Regions from separate parts of the Homo sapiens genome. Here region 1 is linked to region 2. The links are contacts of gene promoters, found by promoter capture Hi-C in blood cells and fetal thymus (Javierre and others, 2016). All regions are on one chromosome and are shown on one strand. The core of a region is centred on a gene start or on the middle of the fragment in contact, and the rest is flanking DNA. Distances in the headings are between cores, read along the strand shown. Region 1 holds the start of RNF40 (ring finger protein 40). Region 2 holds the start of ATP2A1-AS1 (ATP2A1 antisense RNA 1).

Region 1 (6,868 bases), core at 2,951-5,450, 1.9 Mb before region 2:
GTGGCCAGCAGCAGGCCCCGAGCCTCGTCTAGCTGGGTCTTCACTTGCAGAGACTCGTTGTAGAGCAGTGAGAATTGGGCCTGCAGCATGCGGTACTCCCCCGTCTCCCGCACTACCTCCTCAGGAAGGCTCCGCAGGGCCACCTGGGGCAGGGATGCCCAAATGGGATCAGCAACAGGATTCAGGGCTCAGTCCCTCCCTTACAGGCCCAGGACCTCTCAGCCCCTACAGCAGCCCACCTTGAGGCGCTCATTGGTCCGCACAGCCCCCTGAAGTTCGGCCTGCAGTTTCTCCAGCTCTGCCATACGGCTGTTGGCCAGTTCCTGGTTTTCCTCTAACTCTGCATTCAGCATCTCAAACTAAGGAGTGGGAGGCAGGGCCATGGGAGGCAGGGCCAGACGTGGCAGCAGGCCTCCCTTACATCCCCAGCATACACTCCACCCCAAGCACCCCGTGCAGGGCAATGATCGATTCTGACACCCCAAACCAAGTACTTTCCTAAGGGCTCCCAGAAAAATGGGAGAAAATTCAATACTGCATGGTCGGTGCTGGGAACTAAGGCTCTTAACTGATGGGGAGTCACGGAAGGCATTCCAGAAAGGCCTAAAGTGCTAATAAAGGGAAAAAGGGCACAGTGACCACCAGATGCCAACTGACTCCAACTCACTCTTAGCTCTCTCTTCTGTGCTTTATCTTTGTGGTACTCATAACACACTGATATGCTATTTTACTGATTTCTTGTCTGTTACCACAAGTAGAACCTAAAGATATATTCTTTTATTTATTTCTTGTCTGGTCCATGAAAGTTTTGACCTCTATTTTGTTCTCGCCAATATGCCTAGTGCCTAGCACTAAGTGTTCAAAAATCTACTCAACAAGTATATGAATGCATGAAAAAAAGAGCAGCAGGAGTGACCAGGAAGGGCCTCAGAGATGGATGTTTGTCCTTTGTCCTGAGGGGAATTTCAAGAGTGCAACAGAGAAGAGGTTGTGAGAAGGGGTGGGAGGAAAACGCCGCTCACCTTCTGCATGCTGAGTGTGATCTGGCCCCCCTGGAAGCCTGAGGAGCTCCCAGATACATAGTAGCCAGAGTTAAGCTGTGGAGAGAAAACAGACAGGCAATGGATGTAGAGGGGAGGAGCTAAGGCCCAAGGGCCCAGCCTTGCCTCACCTGCCCCAGCACCCCTGCCCCACCTGCTCTAAGGCCTCTGCCAGGTGCTTATTGAGCTTTTGCTCTCGCTTCCGCAGCTTCTCGATGTCCCACTGCAAGTCCTCCACTGTTGTCTCCATCTCCAGCACCTTGGTCTCTGCCGATGTCACTTTATCCTGGAGCTCGGAGTACTGGGAACAATGAGGGAGCAGATGCTTGGATGGGGGACTTGGTTCCTGAGGTCCCTGAGTGCCCATCTAACCCAAATCCTGCCTGATTCTAATCACACCCCCAAAGCCCCCGGCTCCTCACCTCCAATGAGATGCGGTGGTGTTTCTCCTGCAGCTGAGTGGCCAAGTCCTGCAGTCGCCGGTTCTCACGGCCCAGCTCTCGGGTGTGTGCCTGAGCCGCCTCACTGAGGGGCTCACTGTCCCCTGGGAAGGCAGGGCCCAGGTAAGAGCCCAGCTCAGGGCAATGGGGCAAACAACTAACTCATTCTGGAGTCTGCTATATACCCAGTGTGATCCACCAGCTGTCTTGCCCATTTCTCATGACAAAGCCAGGAGTCTTTATCCCCACTGCACAGAGAAGGAAACCAGCTCAGAGAGGGGAGCCACTTTCCCAGCATGTCCAGGTGAGGGTGGCAGAACTAAGGTGGGAGAAGCCTGTCAACCTACAAGGCCTGAGCCCTTGAAGCTATGCCTTGTGGATCCGCAACCCACACCAAGTGCTCCAGAGGGGCCTCTGGCCAGGAGCCTCTACCGGCATCAACAACTCCTCCAACCCATCTCTCTAGCATTCAATCCCGGAATCAAAGTTGGAACCCCCATCTACAGCCTAACCTACCTCTTCCAAGAACATGGCTGATTTATTCCTTGGGAAATTCTGGCCGCCCTTGGACTCGGGCATTAGGGGAATCAGGAAGGGGTGCCATCAAGATGCAGGTGGGGATGGACACCCCTTCAGTATGGGCACAAAGAACCCACCTCGGCTGTACACTCGCTGACAGAGTTCCTCCACCCGGCGCTGTAGGCGGTCTGAGGCCTCTACCACACGAGACACAGCTGCCTTGGAGAACTCCATTCGGCCTTGCAGCTCCAGCTCCACCTCCTCACTGCTGCTGGCACCCAGTGCCACCACAAAAGCCAAGGCCGGCTCACTGAGAGGGGGCCGCAGCTGCATCAGCAAGGGGTCTGGAAGGAATGGACAGACCCTCATGAGGATAAGAGCAGCAGTTACTACCACTCTGTACCAAGTTCCAGACTGAGCCCTTCAATACTCATGGTTCACTTAATCAACACAACCTATAGTGCACTATTATCTCCATCCTGAAAGTGAGACAAATGAAATTCAGGGAGGTAAAGTAATTTCCTCAAAGCTACAGAGTTGCGTATCACATCCTCAGGGAAGCTTCCTGTACTTTACCAATATAATTAGAATCACACGCACATGCATGCACACACAATCATTCCGTTTCAGGAGCCCCAGTACTTTCTGCTTACTATGTTTATAATTTCCTCCCTTATAGCAAGTGCAACACTCATTTCTAGGAAGCGTCAAATACATATTTAATACTCAACCATAATACTGTTTTGAAACAAATGGGTGTCAAAACATGAATTGCTCTATAAACCAAGTTAGTCAGAGTCTAAAGCCTGTGTTTTTGTGCACTGCACTTTACTGCCCAAACATGAAATCCATTTCGTGAGAAGTAGTAAGATAGGCAATTCAGGGGCCCAACACCAAAGTCCCCTCCTCCCCAGGACTTCTCCCAGAACTTAAGCTCCCCAGATCCCAGCACTCTGGTCCTACCTCTCAGCTCTGATGTCCCCGGCTCTGGGAGAGGAGTCCCATCACATGTTGGCCCCTCCTGGGTCCCAGGTGCCTCAGGCGCTGAAGACAGCTCCCCCTGGCTCTCATGGCATCGGAGAAGGGCTTCCACAGTTTCATCCAGCTGGAAGGAGAAAACATCAAAAATGTTATGAATCCCTTAGTGCTTTCCAACATGATACTCCTTTCCTAGCAGGGGAATCTGGGGATTGGCAGCTGAATCAAGGCCTGGTCTTTGAAAGCAGAAGGTATCCACCTGGGCCCAGTAGCGATTGACGATGAGGAGTGTGGCATCATCTGTGGCCTGCCGCTTCTCCAACTTCTCAATTCGTTCTCGGAGTTCATCTTCACAAGCCTGCCGTTGTTCCAGCCGCTCTGCCAGTTTCTTGTTCTTGAACTGTAGTACCTTCAGGTCCATCTCCTCCTACCAAAGGAAACAAAGGGGCCGACGAGAGCGTCAAGCAGGGCCCACAAACCAATCACAGAGAGAGAAAGAGGAGCAGAGCATCTGCAATGCATGGGAGATGGAGGTATTCCCACACTAACCGCTAACAGAATCTAAGGAGGCTCAGACAACACACAGCGAAAGTGTCTTTGTTGTGAGGAGGCTCACGTTGTTTCTGCCTGTCCCCTTGTAAATCCTTAGTCTTTGACAAGTCACACGCCCCCTGGAAACCTGTTTTCCTATCTGTAAAGGGAAGACAGGCGTCGTGTTCTGAGCTTCTTTCTAACCTTTCTTTCAAGGTCCTGTAACGCGGACCTTGCTAAACTTGGGGAAGTGGGTGTAAGATTCCGCACAGTTTGGCCAGAGAACAGAGGGAGGGCTCTGGGAAGTTCTGAGGGTTAAGGCAAGAGCCCACGAACCGTGGAAGAGATGCCTCCAAGACGAATGGGCTCGATAAGAGTCGTGGTGGTCTTCTCCTCACGACTCAGCTTCTTTTCCGGGGGCCCTGAGCCCCCGTCGCCGGCGGCGCGTTTGTTGCCTGGCCCAGACATGGCCGCGGCGGCTGGAGCGATGCAGGGTCCCCTGAGGGGCGTCAAACGGGAGGAGGCGGTACTTCCGTCACCTGCAGAAGACACAGAGCAGAGATGTGGGAACGGCTGGTGTTCCACAGCCCCAAACACCCTCCACCCTGCACACACCTGCTGGATCCCGTCCCCCCCGGCGCCAGAGCCCTCACCAGCAGGAGGGTCAGCCTAGCGCCGCCATCTTGGATTTCACCGGACGTCACTGGGCGTCACTGGACGCCACTGCCCCCCCCCCAACGGTGCGCAGGGCGCAGGCGCCAAAGGCAGCCCCGGATGTGAGGAAACTTCTTTATCTTCTGCTTCTATTGGTTACGCTTGGTCCCGCCACTCGGGTCCTCTGGCTTCTTCCCAAACACCTCCTCTTTCTCTCGGTGATTGGCCAAGAGGCAGTTCCCATAGTAACTGACACCGCGCTCCCACTTCCCAGCCTGGAGGACAGCACCGGCCCTCGTATTAGCAACCTGGAAGAGAGGGCGCCCAGGTGGGCACTCGCAACTTCTCACGTATCTGCGCGTTCTCTTCGCTCCCACTGGCGTGAGCCTGCGCTTTCCGCCTTCCTTCCCTCACAAGCCCCCTTGGCAACCGTCGCCGTTGAGACGGAGGGAGACGCCCCCACGGATTCGCCCCGCCGCGCCTCTCCGCGCGTAGATTGGCCGGAGCGAGGCGAACGGGCCCGGCCTTGGTAGCCGCCGACCGAGCGCTGGCTGTCCTGGAACCTAGGCGGCGGGAGCCCGGGGCGCCTCGCGGCACGGAAGAGCGGCGAGATGCTCAACCGCAAGACCAGCCACTTTTTGGGAATGAGGGTGCAGTCGGAGCTTGAACATCTCTCCGAGCTGCGGCGGGAAGCGGGGAAGGATCGCAGCTCAGTGCATGGGTCGGCCGCGCGGACGCGTGCGAGTGTGCGGACTCAGTGGACGACGGCGGCGGCGGCGAAAGCGGATGAAGACCCCGGAGCCAACTTGTTTCCGGTGAGGGCGGGACAGTCTGGTCTGCTCGTGAATATTTATAAACCGGCTCCCCCGCAGGCGCCACCTGTCATTATGCTTACTAACGTTCGGGACGTCTCCCGGGCTGCTTGGGCGAGGAGAGGCAGGGGTGTGTGACCCCGGTGGTTACTGTGCTCGCGTAGAGCACCTAGGGCCTGCTGAAGCCCTCCCTCGCCCGCGCCTCTCCTTAGTCCTTGAGATGAGATGGCAAGTTACAGCGGCTTCTCCGGCCTGCTGGAGATTCGCTACGGGCCAGGACACCGCAGCTGCCTTCCCCAATTCGCTTTCTTTCCGCAGCCGCCGCTGCCCCGACCCCGGATCTGCATGTGGTGAGTGTGAAGAGACAAAAATTACACTGAATATTTGCGTTCTTTATTGTCTCCCCAACAGTCCTGTCTGTGGCCAGGGCATCCCCATTTTACAGATGAGACTGAGGCCTGGAGATGCAATTACTCCAGGTGACTGGAAGTTGGCTTTCCAGCCTCTCCAGTCCAAAGAGGAGGCAGTGTGAGAAAAAAAGAGCCAAAGACAGAATGTAAATGGAGTCTCATGGCCGCTAAGGAGTATTGTACAGAGGGGGACACTGAGGGCCACAGGGAGTACTTGACCAAGGTCATACAAGGTAGTGGCAGAGCAGAAAAAAGAATTCAAGATTCCTAACCCTAGGCTTTAGAAATGGAGAGGCTCATAAGAGTTCATTTAGGCCCAGAGAGTTAACGATTTGCATAGTCACACAGCAAGCTGGCAAAAGAGCCCAGCTTCACGCCGGTGGCCAACTCCCAGTCTCACGCACTAGCTGTCACAGCCTTGTCATGATAGGTAACGGCCACCAATACTCTTTTTCTTTTACTATAACAGGAAGTACCTGGACGTCCATTCCATGCACCAGCTGGAGAAGACCACCAATGCTGAGATGAGGGAGTAGGGACTGAGGGGGGCGTGGGAAGAGCTCTTGGCAAAGGCTGAGGGGTCAGGTTGGGAAAACATGAGGAATGGCTGACTCCAAAGCATGTGGTGGGTGTAGGGTGATGAAAGGAGGCCCAGTTGTCACTCACTCCTCTCTCCCTCCCAAGGGTGCTGGCTGAGCTGCTGGAGCTAGGGTGTCCTGAGCAGAGCCTGAGGGACGCCATCACCCTGGACCTCTTCTGCCACGCGCTCATTTTCTGCCGCCAGCAGGGCTTCTCACTGGAGCAGACGTCAGCGGCTTGTGCCCTGCTCCAGGATCTTCACAAGGCTTGTATTGGTGAGAGGGGGCAGCTACCAGGTTTGAGCCCCAGGGAGAAGAGGAACCGGGCCTGGCACAAGTGACCATGGGAAGCAGAAGCAGGGGATTTCTGCCTGGAATATGTCATTATTAGTAGCATCATCATACACAAGCCATCAGCTTTCCAATCCACTGCTTCCTTATCTAGAAATTAAGGATACAGCACACATTTTACAGGACTGTTCTGAGAAATAATATATGCAAATATATGCATAGTGCACAATAACACCTGCTTTAGAATGTTTAATAGCTCTTGCTTCAGAATGTTTAATAGCTGAAATGATCTATTTCTTGGTTTATTCCCCTAGAATATAAGCTTCGTAAGGGCAGGACCTTGTCTGTCTTGTTCAGTGCCGAAAACCATACAGTGGGCATATAGTGGGTATTCAGTATTTGTTACATGAGTTAAGGAAACAAGCCAGTGCTGAAACCCAGATCTGTCTGCTTCTGAAGCTCATGGTCATAAACAGCTGTTGAGTGAAGTGAATGAATGGATACCAGAGAGGGCCTCACTGCTGCATCTTGCTTTCCCTACCAGCAACCCCCTTGGGCAACGTGGAGGAGTGCTACCGCTACTTCACCAGTGTCCTTTTTTGCCATGGAGTCAGG
Region 2 (6,334 bases), core at 2,177-4,676:
TTCAGCCTGCCCTCACTCCCTCTGCCCAAGCTCCCTGGGGTGGTGATTCGGATGTCTGCTACAGGGAAGGAGGCCTCTGAAGAGCCATTCCCCCTGGCAGGGGCCTGGAGCTTCGGGAAGGCCTGCTCAGGGCAAACATAAAAACCGCTGAAGGGGGCAGAATCCCAGTAATCTTAGCCACCCGGCCCCCACCCCTCCCTGGCCAGGCATTAAGTGTCCCTTGCCGCGGGCGGGGCCCTCCTTGAGCTCCCTCCTCCCCGGTCGCGTGCTCTGTGCCAGGCCTGAGTTTCCCTTACATGGTCGGGGGCTCGAGCCTTCGGCCTCCCTCCTCCCTTCTGCCCTCGCTCCTTCCCCTTTGAGAGGCCTCAAGGGCACAGAGAGGTCAAGACTGAAAGCTGACCAAGCTTGGGGTGGGTGGAAGGAGGGGGAAGCCAGGCCCGGGAGGGGGTGGAGACGGGGCCATTGGCAGGGACCGGGTTCCACCTGTTGCCTGCGAGTGCAAGTGCAGGGTGAGAGGATGGGGAGCAGGGGGTCTGCCTGCAGCCTCAGGGACAGGACTGGCTGTTCCTGCTGAGACTCCGCTGGGGAGGGGGGGATGTGGCCGGAGTGGCCTGGGATGACCTTCTGAGGAGTCGGAAAGAGAAGCAGACTCCGTCATCCTCCTGGACACCTGGATCCGAGCCTGACCAGCCCCCGGCATCTCCTAGGCCTCAGCCCCAAGGCCTCCCATCCTGGACCAGCCGTCCCTGTCACTCACCAGCCACCTCCACGATGTCCCCAGGGACGATGTCCCGAGCCTTGATCCTTTGCACTGACTTGCGGTCAGCCCGGTAGACCTTCCCCATCTCTGGCTCATACTCCTTCAGGGCCTCGATGGCGTTCTCTGCGTTCCGCTCCTGAGGAGACAGGGTGGAGGAGGCAGGGTTATACACAGGAGGCAGAGTTATGGAGTTGTGGCTCCTGGCACGGGGGAGGCAACAAAACCCCACACAGGCAGGGGTGTGTGTATGTTGAGGAAACTGTCACCTACAGGTGAAAACAGGTGAGAGGGTTTTGGGGAGGGAACAAAGAAGAATCAAAGAAAATCAGGCCGGGCATGGTGACTCACGCCTGTAATCCCAGCACTCTGGGAGGCTGAGGCAGGCGGATCACTTGAAGTCAGGAGTTCGAGACCAGCCTGGACAACATGGTGAAACCCCGTCCGTCTCTACGAAAAGTACAAAAAAAAAAAAAAAAAAAAAAAAAAGCCGGGCGTAGTAGCACGCGCCTGTAATCCCAGCTACTTGGGAGGCTGAGGCACGAGAATCACCAGAACCTGGAGGCAGAGATTGCAGTGAGATGAGATTACGCCACTGCACTCCAGCCTGGGCAAGAGAACGAGACCCTGTCTCAAAAAGAAAAATCTAAATAAAAAATCAAAGAAAATCAGAGGCTGCCCTGCAGATGCTGTCCTGGACCTGTCAGCACCACAGACACAGGTGGCTCTGCTGCGCCTGTAACACTGGGGCAAAGAGAAAGTGCTATTTCTCTCTTTTTTTTTTTTTTGAGACTGGGTCTCACTCTGTTGCCCATGCTGGAGTGCAATTGTGCAATCTTGGCTCACTGCAACCTCCGCCTCCCCATTCAAGTGATTCTCCTGCCTCAGCCTCCTGAGTAGCTGGGATTACAGGCACCTGCCACCATGCCCAGCTAATTTTTTTGTATTTTTAGTAGAGATGGGGTTTTACCATGTTGGCCAGGCTACTCTTGAACTCCTGACCTCAACTGATCCACCCGCCTCGGCCTCCCAAAGTATGAAAGTGGCTATTTCTATCCTCAGTGTTCAGAAACCAGTGAGCACCAAAAAATGGCTTATAGCCTGACATTTCTTAAAACCAAAGCAAGGTAGCATTTGGGTTTTCACTTTGGAAATGACCTAAAAACAAAACAAAACAAAACAAACCAGGAAGCAGAGGACAGGACATGTAGGGGGTGGTCAGGTCAGTGGAAGAAGGAAATCAAGCTAGCGTCTATTGAATTCCTACTGTGTGCCAGGAACATGCATCATCTTAGTCGATTTCACACTGGATTGCTAGCCCCATTTTATGGATGAAGAAACTGAGGCTCAGAGGGATGAAGGAACTTGCTCAGGGTCACATAGCCAGGAAGTGACAGTGGGTCACAGTCTCCCACCTCTTCCCCACACTCCATCCCATTCCAGACCAGGGGATAGGACCAGAGGAAGAGGCAAGTATGGGGGAGGTGATGGAGGAGGAGGAGACTGGAGGGAGGGTTGGCCTCTTCTTCACTGTTGGGACATGAAGGGGTAAGGAAGGGTCAACGCTAACCTGCCAAACCCCCACGATGGCATTGGCAATGAGGATCAAGAGGATGACAAAGGGTTCAACAAAGGCAGTGATGGTCTCTTCACCTTCCTCAAACCAGGCCAGCACCTGGGGAGCAGGGGAAAGGAGAATGACAGGTAATGAGGCCCCAAAACAGATGGAGAAAGGAAGTGGACCACTGCAAAGGGGAGAACTGTGCAGGAGAGTGCAGGAGCCAGCAGGAGGGCCGGGCACCGTCGGGGCGCTGTGGCCCCACATCCGTCTGAGGGTCTGTCCATCCACTGCAGGTCCTGCCACCGCCTTACTCAGCGGGATGGGCGCGCACAGACTTGCACCACTTGGGGGATTAGCTGGGAATGCTTTCAGGTTTCCCTGACCAAGCTGCTGGCTTAGAAGCGAAGCTCAGGCCAACCCCCCGCACAGCCACATCCATCCCACGGGAGCCAAAACCCGAGAGGAAAAACCCTGTGGTCTTCGCAGGCGGTCTGGCCCCCGCAGCCCTCCCCCTCGGCCAAGGCAGGGAAGCTCCGGTTTCACGAGGGAGCCGGAGCGGGGATAGGGTTACGGGGCCTCCTGCGCGCGCCCCGCCCCAGCTGTTGCCACCGCCAGGCAGCAGGCAAATGTCAAGGAGCAAATCTGAGAAGGGAGAGGAGAGGCCCTGCCAGCTTGTGCTTAACGCGACGGGGCCTGCGTTCGGAGACCAAGGCACAGGGAGGCTTTCGTTGCCTCCAGAGTCCCCAGCGAGGCTCACATGCTGCGGAAGAACCCGCGACATGCAGATGGACCGCGGGATGGGGAGTAGCCCCCAGGGCGGGAGAGGAGGCAGAGCCCTGGAGATGCCCTGCGGGGGTGGGGGTGCCTAGGGAGCGCGGGGAAGGGCTAAGGCCAGGCTGGGCGGGTAATGAGGGATGCCAGTGCCCTCCCTGACCGGGCGCCGGGCTCCTTGGAGTCATCATCACACCGCCGCGCTTTCCCGCCACTAGGAGCGAGTCCTCCCCTCGACCAATCAGCGTCAGGAGGCTGGGGAGGGCGGGGCAGGGGCGCCGACGGGCGCGGGGATTGGTGGAGCGGCCGTCCGCCCGGCGCATGCCGGGAGTGGCAGTGGCCCCCCGCGCCGCAGCCGGCATCGCGGCGGGACCCGGAGCCCGGAGTTCGGGTGGGTAACCCGAGCTCTCCAAGCTCTTGAAGCCGCGAGGGTGGCTTAGCTTCGGTGTTTTGGCTGAGAACACCCTTAAAGCTTAAAATAAAACCTGCCTCTGGGGTGCAGGGGAGGAGAGAGGAGGACGCGAATCACACCCGCTGCTGCGCGCCAGCCCGCCCCGTCTGTACAATGGGATGCTCGGGACTCGGACGGGAGGATCCAGTGACTGCGAGCCCCGCATTCGCCCGATCCCAGCCTCACACCCCCAGCCAGCCCCCAGAGACCCTCCCACACTTACGAAGGAAATGCATGCGGCCAGGAGGAGAATCCGCACCAGGAGGTCTTCAAACTGCTCTATCACCAGCTCCCACAGGGTCTTCCCTGGGGGAGGAGGCAAGGGGAGGGCCCCGGGTTAAGGTCTAGTGGGTGAAGGTCTGGGATGGAGCGCCCTGGACTCCGGCCTGCAGTGGGGAGGCTCTAGGGTGGTGGGCAGACAGCTTGGTGCCCAGAGAAGGGCTAAGAAGCTCGCCTGGAGTCCAGAAACAGACTCGGCAAAGTGGGGGGCAGTTCAAGGGTTGGCTGCTTCAAGGAGAAAGCGCCTGGGAGACTTCTGCCCCGGACAGGACTCTAACCTTTAGGGAGGGAGATTTGCCTTTTGGGAAGGGATATTTGCTCAAAGAATCTAAAGAGGCAGGGAGGAGGGAGTGGGACAGGGCGGGGTGGGGGGTGGTCATTTATGAGAGTTCAGGGATTCCAGTAACTTACCTTCCTCAGCAGGGAGCTCTACCCAGGAAAAAGAAGAAAAGGACAGATTCATTTGGGGTTCAGCCTCATGCCCCCCACACCCAAGACTTTGTGGCTAAGAGAATCAGGCCACCTTGAGGTTCATCAAGTTCATCCCATTAAAACCTCCCAAAACTCTGGATCTCGGGACTCTGTTTTCTCAGTATCTTCTTCCCCCTGCGAGCATTGGACAACGGCCCAGCTCTTCCTTAAGAAACCCTGAAGGGAGAAACGCGTGCATGCGTGTGCGTGTGTTTTGGGGGTGCAGGAGGGCATTAATTACCAGCCGCTCTTCCAAGGGACACTTACCATTGAGGCCGTATTTCTCCAGATTCCGCTTAACTTGGTCCGGGGTGAGGCCCGTGGTCTCACTCACCCCAAAATAGGCCAAACATTCCTCCGTGGTTTTAGCATGAGCGGCCTCCATTGTGCTCCCTTCCTGGGGGCCGGGGCCGGTGTGTTCCTTCCAGGGGGTTCCCACTCGTGGGGGGTCTTCCTCAGTGTGTCCAACTGCCTGTCTGCCTGGGTTTCTTCTTTTTACTCTCCTGCCCCCTCCAGGTTTTTCTTCCCTCCACAAAGCTCTGACCCCCGTCCCACTTGAGCAGCCGGCCACCCCCCGGCCCCCAGCTGGTCCTTATGAGGGAGCAGGGGGAGGCCGGGCTCCCCCCTCCACCAGATCAGGGATTGGCTGGCTGAGACTCCAGCAGGAGGTGGTCAGAAAAGAGAGATATTTCTGCTGACAGAGGGGGAACAGTGGGGCTGCAGCCTGAGATGTCACTCATGAGGGACGCAAAGGTAGCCCCAGCCCCAGGGAAGTGGGGTAGGGAGAGACTTCACTTTCTGTCATCTGCTACTGACCCTGCCCCCCCATTGCCTCGACTTCCCCAGCTGCATTGAATTTCCCATTCCAAACTCATCCCCCCAGTTCTTCCCGGAGCCCTCTTCCATCCCCGGCCTCACCTGTCCCTTTCCTCACACCCCCCTTCCTGCCTCATCTGCCCGGAGCCTGTTTCCATTGCCGCAGTCTCCTTCCTCCTCACCCCATTTGCTGAAGCAGTGGCAGAGATACCCCAAGCCTTTGGGGGACTGATGAAGGGAGAACATCTTTTGGGGGCTAGAGGAAGTGAGTGGCTCCTAGAGGGACAAGGGGAAGTGAGGGGAGAGAGTCAAGGGGACAGGGCCGAAGATGGTAACCCTACCCTAGGGAGGGGTTGCCACAGCCATCAACAAGGGATTTAGTGTCCAGGCCCTGGTGAGCAAAGCCAGCACTGCCTGTCTCTCCCCAAAACTGCCCCCCCCCTTCCCCATCGCTCTAACTCAGCCTCTGGGAACAGAGCCCTGAGGGCCCCCCCATCCTGGATAGGGAATCCCCACCCCACCCCCAAGAAAATGGGACACCAAGGCAGCCAAGTAACCCAAGAGGCTACAGAATGTGCTGATGGCAGAGGGGGAGGGGTAACTGTCTCAGGATGGGGGCAGGGGTCACCCCAAGTCGTGCACTGAGGGTCACCTCATCCCACACTGTGCTCTAACCAACGGGGTTTCTGTGGCCAGCCCCAGAGGCCTGTGGTCTGCGCTGCACTCTGCCCTGCTGCATCTGTCCACGAGGGGAACAGGATCAGGCCCATGCTGTGTGCGTGCAGGAGCTAGGCAGACCCCACAGAAAGGTGTCGGGGCCTGGGGAAGCTGGACCAAGCAGGGGCTCCAGACCAAAGGAATGGGGAAGGGTGGACTTCTGGGGACAGGTCTGGGGGAAATAAGGACAGATGTCTAGACCTAGGGGGAAAGGGAGCAGAGACACAGAGCCACCAGGGTCAGAGGGAAGTCCGAGCAGCAGTGGGGAAGAGGGACAGCAGGGAGCCAGGTGGGCGGGGACCCCGGCGCTGGGTGCAAAGCCACAAGTTGTTGCTGAATGCTGGCCTTGGTGTCAGCTTCCTCAGAGAAGCAGCTGCTCTGAGCTGCCCCTCCCCACCCCTGCTCCAGGATGGGGGCGTCTCTTGGTTACCACCAGGGCAGCTGCTGGAGGAGCCGAGGGAGGGTACCAGGGGTGCAGGAAGGGGAGGACAGGCAGGCAGAAAGGCTGGAT

The links. Contacts are between HindIII fragments. The CHiCAGO score rates a contact against its expected background, and 5 or more counts as called.
Region 1: a contact is called between the fragment with the promoter of RNF40 here and the fragment with the promoter of ATP2A1-AS1 in region 2, in 1 of 17 cell types (total CD8 T cells). The highest score is 8.2, in total CD8 T cells.

What each region holds. Positions count from the first base shown.
Region 1 is chr16:30,759,654-30,766,521 of GRCh38, reverse strand. It overlaps RNF40 (ring finger protein 40), which reads right to left and starts at 4,200. Exons shown (of 20, transcript NM_014771.4): 1 at 4,162-4,200; 2 at 3,845-4,047; 3 at 3,237-3,404; 4 at 2,963-3,104; 5 at 2,137-2,343; 6 at 1,463-1,584; 7 at 1,195-1,341; 8 at 1,023-1,097; 9 at 240-359; 10 at 1-143. The coding sequence starts at 3,976. It overlaps PHKG2 (phosphorylase kinase catalytic subunit gamma 2), which reads right to left. Exons shown (of 10, transcript NM_000294.3): 10 at 5,346-6,868. CFAP119 (cilia and flagella associated protein 119) reads left to right here and starts at 4,460. Exons shown (of 9, transcript NM_001014979.3): 1 at 4,460-4,977; 2 at 5,293-5,324; 3 at 5,854-5,916; 4 at 6,069-6,238; 5 at 6,798-6,868. The coding sequence starts at 4,774. RefSeq lists enhancers at 3,882-3,991, 4,112-4,371, 3,859-4,496, 4,452-4,631, 5,222-5,371 and 3 more and a silencer at 4,908-5,137. The HindIII fragment of the contact is 4,015 bases long and covers 2,563-6,577 here.
Region 2 is chr16:28,877,013-28,883,346 of GRCh38, reverse strand. It overlaps ATP2A1-AS1 (ATP2A1 antisense RNA 1), which reads left to right and starts at 3,426. Exons shown (of 2, transcript NR_046290.1): 1 at 3,426-3,805; 2 at 4,243-4,390. ATP2A1 (ATPase sarcoplasmic/endoplasmic reticulum Ca2+ transporting 1) reads right to left here and starts at 4,859. Exons shown (of 23, transcript NM_004320.6): 1 at 4,558-4,859; 2 at 4,231-4,248; 3 at 3,764-3,846; 4 at 2,328-2,432; 5 at 758-896. The coding sequence starts at 4,675. RefSeq lists enhancers at 1-176, 3,700-4,473, 5,719-5,808, 5,819-5,888 and silencers at 3,210-3,559, 3,580-3,629. The HindIII fragment of the contact is 3,157 bases long and covers 407-3,563 here.